Regions from separate parts of the Homo sapiens genome. Here region 2 is linked to region 1. Evidence: promoter capture Hi-C in human tissues and cell types (Jung and others, 2019). All regions are on one chromosome and are shown on one strand. The core of a region is centred on a gene start or on the middle of the fragment in contact, and the rest is flanking DNA. Distances in the headings are between cores, read along the strand shown. Region 1 holds the start of HHIPL1 (HHIP like 1). Region 2 overlaps LOC105370673 (a long non-coding RNA gene).

Region 1 (3,738 bases), core at 848-3,347:
TCTGACTGACTTTTTTTTTTCTTTTTTGAGACAGAGTCTCGCTCTGTCACCCAGGCTGGAGTGCAATGGCACGATCTCAGCTCACTACAGCCTCCGCCTCCTGGGTTCAAGCGATTCTCATGCCTCAGCCTCCCAGTAGCTGGGATTATAGGCGCGTGCCACCACGCCTGGCTAATTTTTGTATTTTTAGTAGAGACGAGATTTCACCATGTTGACCAGGCTGGTTTCGAACTCCTGACCTCGGGTGATCCGCCCGCCTCAGCCTCCCAAAGTTCTGGGATTACAGGCGTGAGCCACTGTGCCCGGCTCCTGACTGTGACTTTTCTTATCTTTTTTTCATGCCTTGTTGTTTTTCTGGAAAGCCAATCAGGATGTACTAGATAACAGAAACCGAGGTAAATAGGTATTAGGGTGAGGATTTATGTTACTCTGGCTGGGGCTGGGCTGTGTTTGACATTTTCTGTGGCTGTAGGAGCCCAAACCTCATGGCTGTGGCCCAGGCTCTGTGTCACTTCCACCTCTGTACACTCATCTGGAGCCCTGTGTTGATGTGTGACTATCACCCAGTTCTGAGTCCCAGCTGGGAAGTAGGCGCCATCGTGCCCTCCGATTCCATCCTGGCTCTGCCTATTCCCAGCTGTCTGTGCAGGAAGCCGTTGCAGGCCGCATTTCCCACCCTAGCAGCCCTCTGCTAGGTTCAGCCAATGAAAGCCACAGGTGGGAGTTGGAGGGGAAGTGGCAGGGAGAAGCCGGGGTATTTCTCCTCCTCTGTCTGTGCAGAATCTCTGACAGTGGCTATCTCCAGCTGTGGCCAGACAGGCCTTGTGAGGGTCCAGCTTTGACAAGGTGACCATAGCTCCTTGGCTCCAGTAACATCTGCTCTTCCTGCATCAAGGACCTGGGGACTGTTCCTACTGTTGCTGATCTCAAGGTTACTTCACTGAGCCCTGTATGGCTTCTTAGCCTCTTTGGCTTCAAGTCCCTGCGTTAAATTCCCCGTGTTTCAAATACTCAGAGATGTTTGGCTGTGCGGAGACCCTGACTCTTACACTGCACCTGTTCAGGCCAGAGCCACAGACCTCTGAGTGCTCCAGCCCTGCCGCATCTCATCCACCCCCAGCTCTGCCAGGAGCATGGGCCCAAAGACAGAAACATGATCCCCCAGGACAGTCCAAAGAGACCTGCAGAGGACGGATGTGTGCGTTGGGGCCATGAAGATGGAGTAGGAGCTCACTGGACAGAGAAGATGGGGAAGGACACTCCAGGGAGAAGCAAACGCTGAGGTCCACTTGAGAAAAATGCCTGGGTGGTTTTGGTGCTGTGAGATTCTAGGGTAGGTGAGACAGTGTGTGTGTGTTTGTCTGTGTGGGTGGTTTTGGTGCCATGAGATTCTGGGGTAGGTAAGACAGCGTGTGTGCGTCTGTATGTGTGTGGGGGGGTGGGGCGGGGTTGGGTCTGAATCTCCAGCGGGGGCAGCGGAACAAAGGGCTGGATGCCCATCCCAGGAGGTAGATTCATCAGTGCTCCCTATGCGAGAGTGGAAGTGGGGAGCCCCAGTGGGTCCTGGGCTGCAGGAGAATCCGCTGCCCCAGGAGCAGAGACTGGGAAGAAGCCCACAGTAAGGGCAAAGGGTGGACTGCGGAGACTGCTCCGTCCTCCCTCCCCACCCCTACGCCAGGTTTCACTTCTCCCTGAGAGTCCTGGGGCAACACCCCCTGTTCTTTCCCTCGCACCCCCATTTTTAAAATGTTACGTGGGAGCTTTCGGGGACGGGCTGCGGGCATCCGTTTCCCTAGCCCAGTGGGAGGTGGAACCGAAGCCCAGGAGTCCAGGCCTCTGGCCCTGCGCCTCCCTGGCTAAAGAGCGCCCTGTGGGGAGGAAGCAGGGCCCCAGGCGGAACCGGGAAAACACACCGGGGCTTTAAACAGACCGGGCCACTCCCATCGAATTTGGAAAGCGGTTAAAAGAGGTCGTGCCGCATTCTGCGCCGCGTCCCTCTTCCTTCAGTCCCGCCGAGTGTCCCCGACCAGAGGTGACCTCCTAGAAGGGGAGGTCCCCAAACTCGAGGCCCTGCGTGTAGGGAAGGGGAGCGCCCGCCCCTTCCCTGCCGCCGCGAGCGCCCCGGGAGGGGACCGGGGCTGCCGTCCCTCCGCCTCTTCCCCCGCGGGGCGTAGCGATGGCCCGGGCCAGGGCCGGGGCGCTGCTGGCGCTTTGGGTGCTCGGGGCCGCCGCGCATCCGCAGTGCCTGGACTTCAGGCCGCCCTTCCGGCCGACGCAGCCGCTGCGCCTCTGCGCGCAGTACTCGGACTTCGGCTGCTGCGATGAGGGGCGCGACGCCGAGCTGACCCGCCGCTTCTGGGCCCTGGCGAGCCGCGTGGACGCCGCCGAGTGGGCCGCGTGCGCCGGCTACGCGAGGGACCTGCTGTGCCAGGTGAGCGGGCGCGCGGCCACCGGGCGGGGCGGGGCGCGGGAGGCCGAGTCCTGGAGCAGAGATCGGAACCCCGCGGGGGCGAGGGCCAAGAGTGGGCGGCGGACTCGGGAACTCTAAGCCCCAACAGGGAGTCATTTGGCACGGGGCGGGGAGACCGCGCATCCCAGGACGACTCTTGGCTTTGCCATTCATTAGTTTTGTGACTTGGGCCTTCTCGGGGCCTCAGTTTCCCCTCCTGAAGCAGGAAGGACGGACGGACGGACAGATGATGTCATCATTTCCTCAGAGGTTGGGGGCTCTTCTGCCCCAGTCCCCTGGAGTCGACCCCTCAGCGTCCCACCCCGAGCAGCTGCACCCTTGTCGGGGTACCAAGGTGGAGAGGCATCTGTCCCGGTCAGTGCTCCTTTGTGTTGTCCCCGGGGCAGTGAAAGCAGGGGGCCCTGGCGTGGGCGTGGTCAACGTGTGGCCCGGGTTTGTTGAGGGGGTTGGGGCCACTGTCCCCCACGAGCGTCTCACCCCCATCCTGATGCCCTTGCCACTTCCGCCACCACCTCTGTGGGTGCTGTGCCCTCTCCTGGGGATGGCGCCCTGGCCTGCAGAAGCTCTCTCAAGACTGAGCGACAGCTCTTTGTTGAAGCCCCTGGGCCCCCCATCTTCCCTCTGAGGGTGGAGCCCCTGCTTCTGTGCACACCTGGTGGTGCCACCGCTATTTGTTTTCCTCTTGTGGGAGTCTGAGGCCCCAGGGCCTGACCACACCCAAGTGGGCAAATGTTGCCTGGCTGAATGCAGAAATGGAGCAGGACGGGCAGCCCCAAGGCATTCCTGCCTCAGCATCTGGGCAGTGAGAGGCCTGGGGTGGAGAGGCCCCAGGGGCCAGGGCCGTGTCCCAGCCTTCGGCCAGCAGGGGCAGGTGGTGTGGGGAAGGGCAAGAAGGCTGACTTGGAGTTGGAGTTTGATCCTGGCTCTGTCACTTCCCCAGCTTCGTGACCTGGGCAGGTCACTGCTGCACCTCACAATATCTTTAAAATGAAGCTGAGTATGGTGGCTTATGCCTGTAATCCCAGCACTTTGGGAGGCCAAGGTGGGCAGATCACTTGAGGTCAGGAGTTCGAGACCAGCCTGGCCAACATGGCGAAACTCCATCTCTACAAAAATACAAAAATTAACTGGGCATGTTGGGGAGCTCCTGTAATCCCAGCTACTCGGGAGGCTGAGGCAGGAGAAGCACTTGACTCTGGGAGGCAGAGGTTGCAGTGAGCCAAGATTGAGCCACTGCACCCCAGCCTGGGCAACAGAGCAAGACTCCG
Region 2 (3,738 bases), core at 532-3,031, 1.9 Mb after region 1:
CTGTCTGCCTCCACATTGGCACCAGCGGTCCAGAGCTGTGGGCAGGAAGCCTGGAGGAACTGAGAGGGGCGGGGGGCCCTGTTAGGAGACACGGGAGAAGGGAGGGAGCCGGGCATTGCATTCCTGGAAAGGGGCCCTTGGTCCATACCCCCCCAGACCCCCATGGCCCCAGCATTGTAGCCACAGCTCAGCCAGCCACCCCCGCCAGCCCTCCCACGGCAGGCCTTCCTGGCCATCCCCTGAACCGCGTGGGCCCGTGCTGCCAGGCTGCCCGGACTGGCCAGCTGAGCTAGGGATCATTTCCTGGACCCATTAATCACTGGATCGGGTTCCATGTCGGCAACAATAGCTCAACCCCAGGCCAGTTGGCCTCCGAGTCTGTCGACCCCCGCTCTGATGCCCCAGCTCTCCAGGTCTTGATCAAGGCGGTGGGGTTAAAAGTGGCCATCGTGACTGTGTGCTGCCCACTTACTGTGTGCAGGGCCTGGGAGATCCCAGAAGAGAATGAGGCCAGTGCCCAGTGAGGACCCGGGGGCTCATGTGGGACAGGGAGCTAGCAGGGATGTCTAACACACAGCAGCACCCACAGCTCGCAGGAGGGGCTGATACTCACCAACCCCACTCTGCCGTTACCTCCCTCCCCAAAACCCACATGTCTGATGCCCATGGCCCTCCACCAATAAAATACCGGAAAGGGAAAGGAAGGAAGAGGCTGCAAGTTCATCTGATGTCCAGACACTGGGTGTGGCAAGTTTCCCAGCAAGTGAGCTCACAGTTGGGAGTGGAAGCCCCCATCCTTCGGACCAAGGTCTTGAGAGCTGCAGCCTCAGGTGCCAGCCACGGCCATCACCCCTGCAGTCCACAGCTGCTGCCAGACAGTCTGAACTCCTGAGCGGAGTCTTGAGTCTCCGGGTGGGAGCAGAGCTGTTCTGGATGGCCAGTCTCTTCTAAGCAGGGTCTACAGAATCGTCCGTGGTGGGCAGTAGCCACTGTGGCAGGGCCTCCAGAGTGCAAGTGCTCAGATTTGTCCAGAAGCCCTGCCGGCCTCCAGAATCCTCAGGTGTGGAGGACATGGCATCTGCAGGCCTCGAAGGAGAGCAGGATGGAAGGGCAGGGGTTCCACTTCAGGTGTAAAGCACAGCCCAGGCAAAGCCAGGAGAAGGAGCTGTGCCCAGTTGAGAACCGGTGTTGTGGGCACACAGAGAGGGCTGCGGCTCGTGACAATGTGAGCAGTGGAGTCTGGGGCAGGGTCCCAGCGCCGTGGGCCCAGGAAGATCCCAGGAATGCTTGCACTATCCCGGAAGTGTTCCTTTGGGGCAGTGTGGGGTGGCAGGGCCTTCCTCCTAACAGGGCTGCCACCAGATATGTGCATGTCAGGCCTCAGTGCCCTTGTACTTGGGCACACGGAAGCCCAGAGAGACAAAGCATTTCCCCAAGGCCACCCAGGGCCCTCGCCACAGAACTGGTCCCCACATGTTCTCCCAGATAGACGCTGCAGCCATCTGACCTGGCCATCTTGCTCAGCTTGTCTGAGGGGCAGGATCTCACAGGCAACAACCACACAGTTAGCGACTAAGGCAGTCACCAGCCCCTGTGATGCCTCTGTGATACTTAGAGAAAGGCACCTCCCCCAGGAGGAGGTAGCCCCCCTGGGGCCCACAGGAATGTGGGGATGGGCTGCATCCAGTGCCCTCACCCCTGGCTCAGCACACCCCCACAGTAAGAATCCTGCCACGGTGGCGGCTGTATTTTAATGCTTACCATGCAGCAAGGCCTTGACGGTGCTTCCACAGGGCCCACCTGTGTACTGGATTCTGCTTGTTCAGGAGTGATTATATGAGCAAAGTTTGTCTCCCTGTAAGCAATGTGCAGGAGGATCCGGTTGTGTTTTGCTCAGCTGTGTATCCCAGCAACAAGTGTGCCCAGTAACAAACACTCCACAAACACCTATAGAACGAAGGGTCTCTTTTAGCCCTAATCAACCCCATTGTACAAATGAGGTTGGAGAGTTGACATGACTTGCCCCATTCATGCAGCTGCAAGTGGGGGGGCTGGAACTCCCAAAACCACCTCTTCCAGACCCACCTGAGATCCCTCTGCTGACGGGGGCAGCCTCCCAGCCAGCAAGAAAGAGAGCCCTGTTCTACCGTTGACTTGTGATGTCCCTACTCATCCCTGAGCCTCAGTTTCCCCTTCCATAATACAAGATGTTTCAGCCCAGTCATGTCCAATATCTTTTCCTGAGACTCTGCACTCTACAGTTTGAAACCGGAATACTAAACCTACAGCATGCATGCCCTAGCTTGTACCCTCCGTACTCATGGCAGACATCATCAATCAATCACCAATCAATCTTTCTCACTAAGCTCATATTAAACAACAGAATCCTTCTCCACATAGTGTACAGGGCAACCATTGGATCAAAAATGACACATAAGATAAAACCTCTCAGCTGGCCAACATGGTGAAACCCCATCTCTACTAAAAATACAAAAATTAGCCAGGCGTGGTGGTGCATGCCTGTAATCCCAGCTACTCAGGAGGCTGAGACAGGAGAATCACTTGAACCTGGGAGGTGGAGGTTGCAGTGAACTGAGATCGTGCCACTGCACGCCAGCCTGGGCAACAGAGCAAGACTGTCTCAAAAAAAAAAAAAAAAAAAAAAAAGATAAAACCTCTCTACCATCTCTGGCCTTCCCAAGGGAAGTCTCGGTGAATGGTGACTTCTGACTCCTGCTGGCAAGGAGCCCCAGGCTACACTGCATCCATGCCTGTCTCCCCATCAGACCCAGAGCCCCATGACCCAGCCACAAGACCCAGGCCCTGCATGCACCCTCAGAAAAGCTTGCCAAATTGTTGTCTCTGATGATTCCTTATTTCTGAGTGTGTTTAATGCTAACACCTCCTTAAGTATGAACTCAGATTTCATCTCGTCTGGAAATCCCCCTAAGATTTCCTCTCCTGTGTGAGTTAGGGATCCCTGTTGTGCCTCTTCTAACAGTCCTGCTCTCCTTCAGCTGATCAACAAACACACAGTGTTGTATTTAGGTCGGTGCAAAAATCATTGCGGTTTTTGCCATTAATTTTTTTTTTTTTTTTTTTTTTTTTTTTTTTTTGAGACGGAGTCTCGCTCTGTCGCCCAGGCCGGACTGCGGACTGCAGTGGCGCAATCTCGGCTCACTGCAAGCTCCGCTTCCCGGGTTCACGCCATTCTCCTGCCTCAGCCTCCCGAGTAGCTGGGACTACAGGCGCCCGCCACCGCGCCCGGCTAATTTTTTTTTTGTATTTTTAGTAGAGACGGGGTTTCACCTTGTTAGCCAGGATGGTCTCGATCTCCTGACCTCATGATCCACCCGCCTCGGCCTCCCAAAGTGCTGGGATTACAGGCGTGAGCCACCGCGCCCGGCCTTTGCCATTACTTTCAACGGCAAAAACCGCAATGAATTTTGCACCGACCTAAGTGTTTGAGTCTGTGAAGACACTGCGACCGTTCTCCAAGCCCAAAACCCAGGCTAGAGGAAGGTGAGTGAGCCTGCAGTGAGTGACGGGGCCGACTCACCTGCAAGCATGCATGGCTCATTCATTTATTCATTGACCAGGTGCGTGTTCCTGGGACACACAGGGATTCCACGCAGGCACCATCCTTGACCTCTGGAACTTACACGTTGGTGAGGAAGAGACTATTTAAGAAACAGTTATACATATAATTAAGTGGCCATAAGTATGAGACTGTTTAAG

The links. Contacts are between HindIII fragments. The study calls those that stand out against the background at their distance.
Region 2: a fragment that was not itself captured here is called in contact with the fragment with the promoter of HHIPL1 in region 1 in 1 of the 25 tissues and cell types used here (pancreas).

The regions. Positions count from the first base shown.
Region 1 is chr14:99,643,032-99,646,769 of GRCh38, forward strand. It overlaps HHIPL1 (HHIP like 1), which reads left to right and starts at 2,098. Exons shown (of 9, transcript NM_001127258.3): 1 at 2,098-2,431. The coding sequence starts at 2,177. The HindIII fragment of the contact is 28,378 bases long and covers 1-3,738 here.
Region 2 is chr14:101,521,458-101,525,195 of GRCh38, forward strand. LOC105370673 (a long non-coding RNA gene) reads right to left here. Exons shown (of 7, transcript XR_944222.2): 5 at 3,560-3,680; 6 at 1,762-1,947; 7 at 246-1,352. Among named protein-coding and RNA genes, the nearest start is that of DIO3OS, 37 kb to the right of the region's middle. RefSeq lists enhancers at 813-1,344, 1,345-1,875. The HindIII fragment of the contact is 3,867 bases long and covers 1-3,715 here.